Linked DNA regions of Homo sapiens: regions 1 and 3 are each linked to region 2. The links are contacts of gene promoters, found by promoter capture Hi-C in human tissues and cell types (Jung and others, 2019). All regions are on one chromosome and are shown on one strand. Each heading gives the region's core, a stretch centred on a gene start or on the middle of the fragment in contact. The rest is flanking DNA. Distances are from core to core; before and after follow the strand shown. Region 1 overlaps CBFA2T2 (CBFA2/RUNX1 partner transcriptional co-repressor 2). Region 2 holds the start of ACTL10 (actin like 10). Region 3 overlaps CHMP4B (charged multivesicular body protein 4B).

Region 1 (4,140 bases), core at 886-3,385, 130 kb after region 2:
GCCGTGTCTGTGTAGAAAGAAGTAGACATGTGAGACTTTTCATTTTGTTCTGTACCAAGAAAAATTCTTCTGCCTTGGGATCCTGTTGATCGGTGACCTTACCCCCAACCCTGTGCTCTCTGAAACATGTGCTGTGTCCACTCAGGCTTAAATGGATTAAGGGCGGTGCAAGATGTGCTTCGTTAAACAGATGCTTGAAGGCAGCATGCTCGTTAAGAATCATCACCACTCCCTAATCTCAAGTACCCAGGGACACAAACACTGCGGAAGGCCGCAGGGTCCTCTGCCTAGGAAAACCAGAGACCTTTGTTCACTTGTTTATCTGCTGACCTTCCCTCCACTATTGTCCTATGACCCTGCCAACTCCCCCTCTGCGAGAAACACCCAAGAATGATCAATTAAAAATAAATAAATAAATAAAATAAAATAAAATAAATAAATATTTAAAAGGTCAAAAAAAAAAAGAAAAAATAAAAAAATAAAAATAAAACTCAATCCATGCCCAGACTTCCTGCCTGGGCCTAACAAAGAAGCCTTCTCCTGCAGACCCCAGGACAGCTAAGCCACTGAGCTGGTTCTTAGCACCAATCTTCTAGATCAGTTCAACTCAAATTCCTTGCCAGGCTTGTAAGATAAATAAGGAAGCAACTGAGTGGGGACCATGGGGACCTGTCTTAAGGGGCAGCAGCTACTGCTACTGAACCCCAACCACCACGACTATGTGGGAATATGACCCAGTGTGGCCAAATTTTCCAGTTTTTGTAAGGGAATCCCAAAATCCAGACTTTTATTTTCTAAATATTGACTCAAATTTGTAAAAAGCTCTATGTAGCCCCAACTAAACATGTCTGTGGGCTAGATTAGCCCTTTGGCTAGCTGGCCACCAGTTGACCATTTCTGTAGACAAGATTCTCAGAAAGGCAACCACAGCCTCAACTTTTACAGGATTATTTTCTACCTAAAGAGGCATGTGCATAAATGGCAGGATGCCCAGCACACCTCATTTTACTGTGTTTCACTTTATTGTACTTCACAAATATTGCATTTTTTAACAAATGGAAGGTTTCTGGCAACCCTGTGTCAAGCAAATCTATCAGTGCCATTTGTCCAACAGCATGCACTCACTTCCTGTCTCTGGATCACATTTTGGTAATTTTTGCGACATTTCACAGTTTCTCATTATTATTATATCTGTTATGGTGATCTGTGATCAGTGATCTTTGATATTACTATTCTAATTGTTTTGGGGAGCCACAAACTGTGCCCATATAAGATGGAAAACTTCCAATAAATGCTGTGTGTGTTCTGACTGCTCAAAAAAAAAAAAAAAAAAAAAGCTAAAAAGATACAAAAAATCTTTTTAACTCTATTCTTTGAAAGAAACTGTTAAGAAAATAGACAAGTAATACGCTGGGAGAAAATATTTGCAAAGCATATACCTGATTATATACCTGATTTAAAAAAAAACCTCAACAGGCTGGGGGCAATGGATCATGCCTATAATCTCAGCACTTTGGGAGGCCGAGGTGGACGGATCACTTGAGGCCAGGAGTTCAAGACCAGCCTGGCCAACATGGTGAAACCTCGTCTCTACTAAAAATACAAAAATTAGCCGGGCGTGGTGGCGCGTGCCTGTAGTCCCAGCTACTCAGGAAGTTCAGGATCACTTGAACCCAGGAGGTGGAGGCTGCAGCGAGCTGGGATCGCACAACTGTACTCCAGCCTGGGCAACAGAGTGAGACTGTCTCAAACAAACAAACAAAAACCTCAACAGCAAGAAAATAAACAATGTAATTTTTTTAAATGGGTAAAAGATTTAAACAGACATTTCACCAAAGAAGATATATAGATGGTAAGTACTTGAAAATATTTTAGAAAAAGTTTGGCAATTTCTTAAATAGTTAAAACATATGATGCAACCACACCATTCCTATGTATTTACAAAGGAAAAAGAGTCTGGGCACAGTGGTTTAACACCTGTAATCCCAACACTTTGTCTGGGAGGCCAAGGCAGGAGTATCACTAGAGCCCAGGAGTTCAAGACTAGCCTGGGCTCGAACCCCATCTCTATTTGTTGTTGCTGTTGTTGTTGTTTCTGAGATGGAGTCTCGCTCTGTCACCCAGGCTGGAGAGCACTGGCGTGATCTCGGCTCACTGAAACCTCGGCTCAATGCAACCTCCACTTCCAGGGTTCAAGCGGTTCTCCAGCCTCACCCTCCTGAGTAGCTGGAATTACAGGCACACACCACCATGCAAGGCTAACTGCTGTATTTTTAGTAGAGACGGAGTTTCACCATGTTGGCCAAGCTGGTCTTGAACTCCTAACATTCAGGTGATCCGCCCACCTCAGCCTCACAAAGTGCTGGGATTACAGGCATGAGCCACCACGCCCGGTTCCCATCTGTGCTTTTTTTTTTAAAAAAGAAAAGACAAAAGCAAGCATATGTCCATATAAACATTTATATATGAATGTTCAAAGAAGCTTTATTTGCAATAGCCAAAGACTGGAAACAACTCAAACATCTATCCACAGGCAAATAAACAAATGTGATATATCCATACAACAGAATACTACTCAACAATAAAATGGAATAAACTACTGATACATACATCTTAAAATAATTATGCTGGATGAAAGAAACCAGACCTAAAAAGGAAGAAAGGATGGAAGGAAAGGAGTGCATATTGTATGATTTCATCTATATAAAACATATATACATAAAATTCTATAAAATGCACACTAATCTATAGTGACTGAAAGCAGATTAGTGTTTGCTTGGAGACAGGGCAGGGGGAGCATGGGAGGGAGAGATTACCAATGGGCACAAGGATACTTTATGGAGTGAATGATATGTTGACTATCTTGATTGCAGTGATCATTTCACAGGTATACCTGCCAAACCTGAGCAAACTGTACACTTTACATATGTGTAGTTTATTGTAAGTCAATTAAACCTCATTTTTTTTTTAGTGAAAGAATAAAACAAAAGTATATGTAAGGGGGGAAAAGTGATAAAAGTTTAAGAAGAAAATGCAGGAAGAAGCACTGTTTGTTCAGGAAGGGGCGTGTAGTTCTCTGAGGATTCCATGCAGTTTGAAACAGCTGTGTATGAGATGACAGTGAAATAAGCCAAATGGACATCATCTGTAGGCAGTGAGAAACACGGTTCCAAAACACAGAGAGGAATCACTCCTTGAGAAACAGCAGAAGACAGCACAAGGGAGAAGACAGTGCCAGGCAGCACAATAGCTCATTTATCTATAATACCATGCCATATACAAAATATACTATTTTGTGGAACATTCCCCTAGGCCTGTCAGCTTTTAAACTGCAAGTCAGAATACTCCCCTGGCTTATTTTACCGATAAATACAACTGAAACACAAGATGCAGACAAGATACATCCTCTCACAGTGTTAAATGAGACATTCAAACTTGGTTTTGGTTGCTCTGAAATGTTAAAAGGATCTAACACACCTTGTATAATTCACCTTGATAGTGAACATTCAAAGAGACACACAGTTTAGCAGAAAATAACTGAAATTGACTTACATGTCTCAGTTGCTTAAAGCAAAAAGGAAAGCTACACTTGAAATGTACCTTGTTATAAATGTAACATAAATGTCAAACTCTAAATAGCCTGGTGAAAAAGAGCTAGTAGATCGGGTATGCTGCTATCTCAGAGATCATTCCCTACCCCTTGCCCAACGTTTCTGCTGTAAACTCAAATGTCAACTTCTCAATAATGCCTTCCTAAGTTCCCTCTTCGTTGTGTACCTTTGACAGAATTACACTTTTCTGCTCTCAAAACCATACTTGAACAATAACAGTTATTTCCTTAATCTATTAGAGGTTAAGTACTGTCATACTCATCACTAGCCTAAACGCAGTGTTCTGTGCACACCAGGAGCTAAAAATGGGGAAAAGAGGTGTTTGATGGGATAAGGCCAAAGGTGACAAGGCCTAGAGAGGTCTGGAAACCAAACCTAAGCCTCACCAGAGTTCTGGTTTCCTTTCATTAAGTCTGGTAACTGCAGCTTATTGGGGCTGAGGGGATAGGTTCATGGGAGGTCACTACATTACTCCATCTACTTTGTGTATGTTCAAAATTCCCCACAATAAATTGTTAAAAAATAAAGA
Region 2 (3,705 bases), core at 241-2,740:
TTGGGGAGATTCAAACTGCAGTTCAAAATGAGGGTCCCATGGGTCCCAAATACCTTCTCCTGGCCCAGAAAGGGTATGGGGGTGACCCATCCAGTCAGCTCCAACCTCCAGGAGGACCCTGCCAGCTCCAAACACTTGACTCTTTAGATAGAGAGCTGTCCCCCAACGCAGTGCCACCCCCCCCAGTCCAGCCTGACTCAGTTGAACACATCGTACAGCAGCCTGGAGCCACACTCCTGGTACATGGCCCGAGTTATCCAGCGGCGCTGGAAGGAGTGCAGGGAGGCCACCATGGAGCCGCCGGTCCACACAGCCATGCCACGCCCATGCTTGGCCACCAGGTGGGGCCGCAGGGCCGCGTAGCCGTGCCGCCGGCACTGCGCCTCCAGCTCCTTGTCCAGGCGCTCGGCGAAGCCAGGAAACAGTGTGGAGCCGCCGGCTAGCACCACGGTGTCTGCCAGGCGTGTCCGCAGCGTTTTGGGCATCTTCTGCAGCGCCCGGAAGGCCAGCGCGGGCAGCCCCTGCTCAGCCTGGCCCAGCAGGCCCGGCTGGAAGATGGGTTCGGGGCAGCGGAAGCGCTCACTGCTGAGGCAGACGCAGCACCCGTTACCCACGCTGAAACTGGCCGGATGGTGGCGGGCGGGGTCGCGGAGGTCGCCCTCGAAGTCCAGGGACACGTAGCAGCTGCGCTTCTTGAGATGTGTGATGGCCTTGCGGGGCAGGGCCTGCTGCAAGAGGTCAGGGTTCGCCGCCACCAGCAGATCCCGCAGGTAGCGCGACAGGGTGCTGCCTGCCACGTTCAGTCGGAAGGTGGCCTGGTGCCACGAGTGACCCGCGTAGATGGGCGTGGCGTGGCACACGCCCGCGCCCGCCTCCACGGCCAGCCCGCTGAACGCGCCGGTGGAGCAGAGCGCCAGCAACGCGGTGCTAGCCATGTGGCACGCGGGCACTGCCAGGGTCTCGAACAGCAGCTCCGCCACCCTTTCGCGGCCCGCGGGCGGCGCCAACGGCGAGTCGCTCACCAGCACGGGCCACTGCTCTGGGCACACCCGCAGGCCGCCCACCAGCAGGCGCTCCCACAGCCCTTCCAGCGCCTCCCAGTCCGCCACCACGCCGTGCTTGATGGGGTGCGCCCGCGCCACGCCGCCCGCCAGCTCGCAGCCCGGCGCTCCGGGCAGCACCGGCCGGTCCCAGCTGGGCACCAAGCTAGAGCTCTTCAGCACTATGCGCGGCTGGTTCTCGCCCGCGAAGCCCGCCTTGGTGAAGCCCGAGCCCTGGTCCACCACCACCGCGATGCGGCCCAGGGAGGACGGCCGGTGCACGCGGCGGCTCCCCGACACCGACGCCACCTTCGGGCTCGGCCCAGCCGCGGGGCTGAAGGCTCCGCTCCTCCGCGCCACTCGGCTTCGTCGGCCCGATACCTCCCGGCCTCTGTCCTAGGGAGTAGTCCCCTTCAGCCTTTGGCTCTGCCTCCGGAGCCTAAGTTCTTCCTCTTCTGGACCAAATCACCACCCTTTTCAGCTCTTGGCTCCGCCCTCTGGTCTGAAAGCCCCGCCTCTTCTGTCCGGGCCATCCGCCTCCTTTTCAGCTCGTGGCTAGTTCCTAGGCCTGAGGCCCGGCCCCTAGTTCAGGCTTCAGTCTCCGCTCTGGCTGGGTTCCAGCCGCATCTCACCCTCTTGGTCTCCCTCTGGCGCCGGGCTTCAGGCTCCACGCTCTCAGGACCCGCCTCTGCTTTGCTGTTCCGCCCCGTCAGCCCTTGCTGAGATGGCTGACGAGATGGCTAGGACTGATCCTTTTAGATCCTAAGAAGCCCCCGGGAGGAGCAGAACTTTGAGGGCGAAGGGGCCTTGTGGTAAGGCCATTTGGACATATATCCCCCTTGAGGACCCAGGCAGCCTCCTGGCACCTCTCACCTGGGCTTGACGGAAGTTCCTGGTTGTGGAGAGGGGAGGGGCTGGTCAGAAGGCAGAAAAGAACTTGGATTGGGCTCATTGTGACCTCACTCCCCAGCAGCTGCACTTCGCAGCTCCCTACCTTATGACAACTCCCTGGACCCATCCTCTCTTCTGGACAGAGCCAAGGGCAGTGATTTTGGCATCCAGGGGTCTGGCTTCAGCAGCCCAGCACAGTCTGATTCCTTTCCCAAACCACTTAGAATTATCTGATGTACTCTGTCCAGATGTGTGGCCCCCTACCCCTCCCAGTGCTGAAGAAAAAGCTTTTTCATCACAGATCTGCAGCTTCCCTGAAGAGCCCCCGAGAGGCTCTGGCCCTACCTTTATGGGCTTCCACGGATGGATTCACGTGGGCCTCAGTTTGAGACTCAGTTCTTTTTTTTATTATTATTATTTTTGAGACGGAGTCTCGGTCACCCAGGCTGGGCGTGCAGCGTTGCAATCTCAGCTCAGTGCAACCTCTGCCTTCCGAGTTCAAGTGATTCTCCTGCCTCAGCCTCCTGAGTAGCTGGGACTACAGGCATGCACCACCATACGCGGCTAATTTTTGTATTTTTAGTGGAGACAGGGTTTCGCCACGTTGGCCAGGCTGGTCTCGAACTCCTGACCTCAGGTGATCCACCTGCCTTGGACTCCCAAAGTGCTAGGATTACAGGTGTGAGCCACCGCACCCAGCAAGACTCAGTTCTGAAGCTGACTCACTGTGCAGTCCTAAGCAAGTCTTGATCTTTCTCTGGGTTCGGTTTTCTCCTCCAAAAGGTAGTAATAATCCCCCCACACAGGAAAGAGGTCACTTCTTGTCTCTGCAAAGCCTCATCCTCCTGAGGACCAGTTTGGTTGCAGGTAGAAGACTCAGGTGAATGTAACCCAAAATAAGGACTTTATTGAAAGGATCTTACATGTTATGGATATCAAGAGCAAGGGTGAAATCAGGTTTCAGGAACAGAATCTGACTGCGGGGCTGTGGGGAACCCAGGATGTGCACTGCATTGTGTTGTTTGTTTTTTGAGATGGAGTCTCGCTCTCTTGCCCAGGCTGGAGTGCAGTGGTGTGATCTCAGCTCACTGCAACCTCTGCCTCCTGGGTTCAATTCCCCTGCCTTAGTCTCCCGAGTAGCTGGGACTACAGGCGCCCGCCATGATGCCTGGCTAGTTTTTTGTATTTTTAGTAGAGACGGGGTTTCACCGTGTTAGCCAGGATGGTCTCGATCTCCTGACCTCGTGATCTGCCTGCCTCAGCCTCCCAAAGTGCTGGGTTTACAGGCGTGATCCACTGCGCTTGGCCTGCATTGTGTTTTTATTCTGAAGGCTGGCTTAGCCTGTGCATGTTCAAGTAGAGAACATGGTCTCTTACAGCTCCTGAATCACAGTCCTAGGGGGAGGGGCTGACAGGACCAGCTTGGGCCAATCACTGTATGGGCAGGAGGTGCAGCCCCATGGAAGAACATGGTTACCCTGATTGTAACCATGTGGATGGTAGGGAAGAGTCAGTTCTCACAATTAGCAGGAGTGATGTTATAGCTCTTGCAGCCTCCAGCCTGGTGCAGGCAAGGTGGAGGAGATGTTCATCCTGGTGGCGGTGACAAAAGTGCATCTTCAGCAGAAGCTGGGCTGATGGCTGTAGTGAGCTGGGACTTCAGTCCTGCTGCATCTGCCCCCAAAAGAGGGCATCCTGAGGTTGGTCACCAGAGTGTGGCAGGAAGGCGGGCTGCAGGTTTGGCAGGCCAGGGGTGGCATTGGGTGTGGAGCTG
Region 3 (3,758 bases), core at 634-3,133, 180 kb before region 2:
CTTTAAAAACCTAAGAGACTCAAGGTCCCAAATTGCTACAGCAGAAACTGGCAGATGGCCGAGATCTAGACAGATACCCCGGGTCAGGGGTAAGTGCCCCCTCTTTGCTCTACCTTTCCCTCATGCTGAAGCTGTCTCAGGGAAAATCCTGTGAACTTCTCCAGGGCATGGTCATCTCTGCTGCCCAGCTCTGTGCCAGGGCCCACCCTGGAAAGGTGCAGGCTAGCTACTTGTTCAAATCAGTTAGTGACCTGAAGCCTGCTGAAGGGTCCTGATGAATGTGCCTTTACTCTACCTAAGCTTCCACCCCAAATAGAGAAAGTGTCCCTCAAAATGCAGAATTCAGGGAGGGTTAACACCATGCCCTGTCTCTGTCCAAGTCCAAATGCTCCCTGCCTGAGAGCCTTCAAGAGCACATCAAGGGACAGCCTCAGGGTATCATTTGTGAAGCTTATGGGATCTGTACAAAACTACTCACCTCGTCAAACTCTTCTCCAAACCCTACAGGTTTCGAAATTGCTGTTGAAATCTCCTCTGCAAGTTCTTGCTGGTCAGCAATGTCCTGCATTAACTCATCAACTTTATCGATGTCCCTTCAAATGCAATGGACAGGTATCATATCAATCGATTAGGCTGCGTAAAGGGGGCCTGCAAGGCAAGGCGGGAGCAGAAACTGGGCCCCACAAAATCAGCTTCCCAGCCACACCCCCTGCAATGACTCCCTGTGAGGGGTTACTTGGCATTATTGCCTCCTCCCCTTTAAAATAGAGAATCATAGACTCAAGGGGACGGGAATGTCTTTAAGACACTACCCAGTCCAACACCCTACAGGTGGCACTATCAAGGTCCTACATACAAATTAGTAAAGGTATCACATTAAGACCGCAGGGCTTTAACTCCTGGGCCAATAGCTCTTTTTCAAGTCCAAGGGTAACTCTGTACAGGGGGAAGTAAAAGCACAAATCACAGAAGACAGCCATGCTGTCTAATGGGCCTTCCATCTACTCAGTCCACCTATGGATCCTCTAGGACCCCAAAGGAAAGGCAAATTCCGCAAATATGCAGAATTTTCTTCTACACACTGACAATCATATAAACCTATATTTACTCAAGCCAACATACACACATATACGTCAACATTTGCACAGTATTTAATGAGCTGCACTCTGCTAGGTTTCCAGGAGAACACAGAAATGAGGCATATATGGTTCTCATTCAAGCAGCTCGGTCCAATGAACATCCACCCTCAGACAAAACCTCACTTATTTGAAGGCTACTTCTCCTGCAACCTCACATTTCTAGAGCAACATCAGCAAGCTTTTTCTGCAAAGGGCCAGACAGTAAACACTTTAGAATTTATGGCCAGACAGTCTCTGTTGCAAATACTTAACCCTGCTGCGTAGCACAAAAGCTGCCACAGACAATATGTAAATTAAGGGGCATGACTGTATTTCAATAAAACTTTTAAGGCTAGGCACAGTGACTCACACCTGTAATCCCAAAACTTTGAGAGGCCCAGGAGGGAGGATCACTTGAGGCCAGGAGTTTGAGACCAGTCTGGGCAACACAGTGAGACCCCATCCCTGCAGAAAATTTTAAAAATTAGCCAGGCATAATGTCACACACCTGTAGTCTGAGCTACTCAGGAGGCTGAAGTGAGAGGATGGCTTGAGCCCAGGATTTTGAGAGTGCAGTGAGCTAGGATTGGGCCACAGCATTCCAGCCCAGGTGACAGACACAGCAAGACCTTGTCTCAAATAATAATAAAACTTTATTTACAAAAACAGATGGCAAGCCCATAGGGTGCATTTTCCCACCCATTGGACAGCACAGCTGAGTACCCAAAAGGAAGCAAAAAAGGCACCTAGCACCCCCAAATATATGCTGCCAAATCTAAGCACTACAACAAATGCAGATTTTTTATTTTTTATTTTTTATTTTTTTATTGAGATAGAGTCTCACTCTGTCGCCCAGGCTGGAGTGCAGTGGTGCAATTTTGGCTCACTGCAACTTCCACTTCCTGGGTTCAAACGATTCTCCTGCCTCAGCCGCCAGTAGCTGGGATTACAGGCGCATGCCACGACACCCAGCTAATTTTTGTATTTTTAGTAGAGATGGGGTTTCAACTATGTTGGCCAGGCTGGTCTCGAACTCCTGACCTCAGGTGATCTGCCTGCCTCAGCCTCCCAAAGTGCTGGAATTATAGGCGTGAGCCACCTCACCCAGCCCAAATGCAGATTGTATTCAAGAGAGAGGCCTTCATTTGGAGCCTCCTTACCTTGGCCTTTAGTTACAACTGTAACAAGCTTGGTTATCTAGTTTCTTAGGCCACTGCCATGAGAGGTAGCCATATAGGGGAAGAAGGACTGCTGAGGGCAAGATCACTGTCAATGACAGCTACAGCCGGAGAGCAAGAGAGGAGGCAGAAAACGCCATCAAAAGCAGACATAGGAACAGAGAGATCCAAAGCTCTTGGATGAACCACACATTTCAGGGCCCCTGACAGCATCAGGGAAAAATCATGGGCACCGATTCTAATCCCAGTTCTAACCAAGCTCCCATGTCACACAGGGCAAATCCGCTTCCCTCTCTGGGACACAGCTTCCCCACCTTCACATTCACAGGTCTGGACAAGAGGACCTTCTAAAGGCCTTTCCAGCTTGAAACTATGCTCATCACAATAACCCTGAATTACTCAGAAAGTACTTTTACATCCCATGAGATCTCCTTTCAAAGGCACGTCATCCATTTTCGGAGTTCCAAAAAAGAATGAGAATTAAAACAAACTCAGGTGCTCGAATAGGTAAGTCAAGGGATCCGTCTGCCCAAGGCCATGGCCTGGGTACGAGGCATTCCGGGACTAGCACTGCCCTGTGGCGCAGGGGCGGGTGGACACGTACATGTTGTCATGGGCCGCCTTCATGGCCTTGGCGGCATAGCCCATGTTCTTGAGCACCTCGGTGTTGGTGTTGGCATTCTCCAGGGCCTCCCGCTGGAACTCGATGGTTGATAATGTGCCGTCGATCTGCGCCAGCTGCTTCTCATACCTCTTCTTACGCTTCAGTGCCTGGAGGGCCGCTGCGTGAGGGAGAAAACAGGGTTTCAGAGAGTCCCGGCACAGGGTGAGGTTCTAGTGTCACTGAGTCTTTTCCCCAACTCTACTGGAAGCACCTCTGTTGTTGCTTCCACTATAGCAGAGGATTCATAAATTCTACACAAAGAGCACATTCAATTTTCTACAAAAACATAAAATTCACATACCTCAAAACACGGCCAGTAAACAAGCACACAAGCCAAAGTTCAACCCTCGGGTAACCACGCACACACACAAATCAAAGCATGGACAGCCACCTGAGGAAGAAGATGCTCTGGGGTCAAACTCCCTTAGGGTCAAAGCCCAGCTCACAGACTCAGGTGAGCTACTTGGCTTCCCAGATGGGGTCAGTGTGAGCAGCAAATGACATACTGTATGTAAACACCTGGCACATTCATCAGTGTGTATGCCTCTCAAAAAAAGCGGCTCCCATTATTATAAAGCAACTTCAAAGTACTATTTTATGCCACCTAAATTAAAGAAATCATAAATATAATGACTATATCAAATACTAGATCAGTTTGGGTTAAAAATGCTATTTCACTCATAGCCAACAACTGTGTAAATTGTTACAATGCTCCCGAAAAGTAACATGGCAACACACAGCAACAACCATCATGATGTTCTTATCCTCTGACCCAGTAATTTCCTTCTGGAAATGTAT

What was found. The method cuts DNA at HindIII sites, captures the fragments that hold promoters and counts their contacts. A contact is called where the count stands out against the background at its distance.
Region 1: a fragment that was not itself captured here is called in contact with the fragment with the promoter of ACTL10 in region 2 in 3 of the 25 tissues and cell types used here (aorta, lymphoblastoid cells and mesendoderm cells).
Region 3: a fragment that was not itself captured here is called in contact with the fragment with the promoter of ACTL10 in region 2 in 3 of the 25 tissues and cell types used here (dorsolateral prefrontal cortex, mesenchymal stem cells and spleen).

Annotation. Positions count from the first base shown.
Region 1 is chr20:33,531,948-33,536,087 of GRCh38, reverse strand. The region is part of intron 1 of CBFA2T2 (CBFA2/RUNX1 partner transcriptional co-repressor 2); the gene reads right to left. Among named protein-coding and RNA genes, the nearest start is that of CBFA2T2, 44 kb to the right of the region's middle. RefSeq lists an enhancer at 1,690-2,189. The HindIII fragment of the contact is 8,204 bases long and covers 1-4,140 here.
Region 2 is chr20:33,664,728-33,668,432 of GRCh38, reverse strand. It overlaps ACTL10 (actin like 10), which reads right to left and starts at 1,490. Exons shown (of 1, transcript NM_001024675.2): 1 at 1-1,490. The coding sequence starts at 935. The coding sequence ends at 198. All of the region lies in intron 5 of NECAB3 (N-terminal EF-hand calcium binding protein 3), which reads left to right. RefSeq lists enhancers at 688-767, 1,578-1,797, 3,648-3,705 and a silencer at 1,118-1,447. The HindIII fragment of the contact is 10,203 bases long and covers 1-3,033 here.
Region 3 is chr20:33,847,787-33,851,544 of GRCh38, reverse strand. CHMP4B (charged multivesicular body protein 4B) reads right to left here. Exons shown (of 5, transcript NM_176812.5): 2 at 2,901-3,078; 3 at 479-593. Among named protein-coding and RNA genes, the nearest start is that of CHMP4B, 38 kb to the right of the region's middle. The HindIII fragment of the contact is 3,016 bases long and covers 376-3,391 here.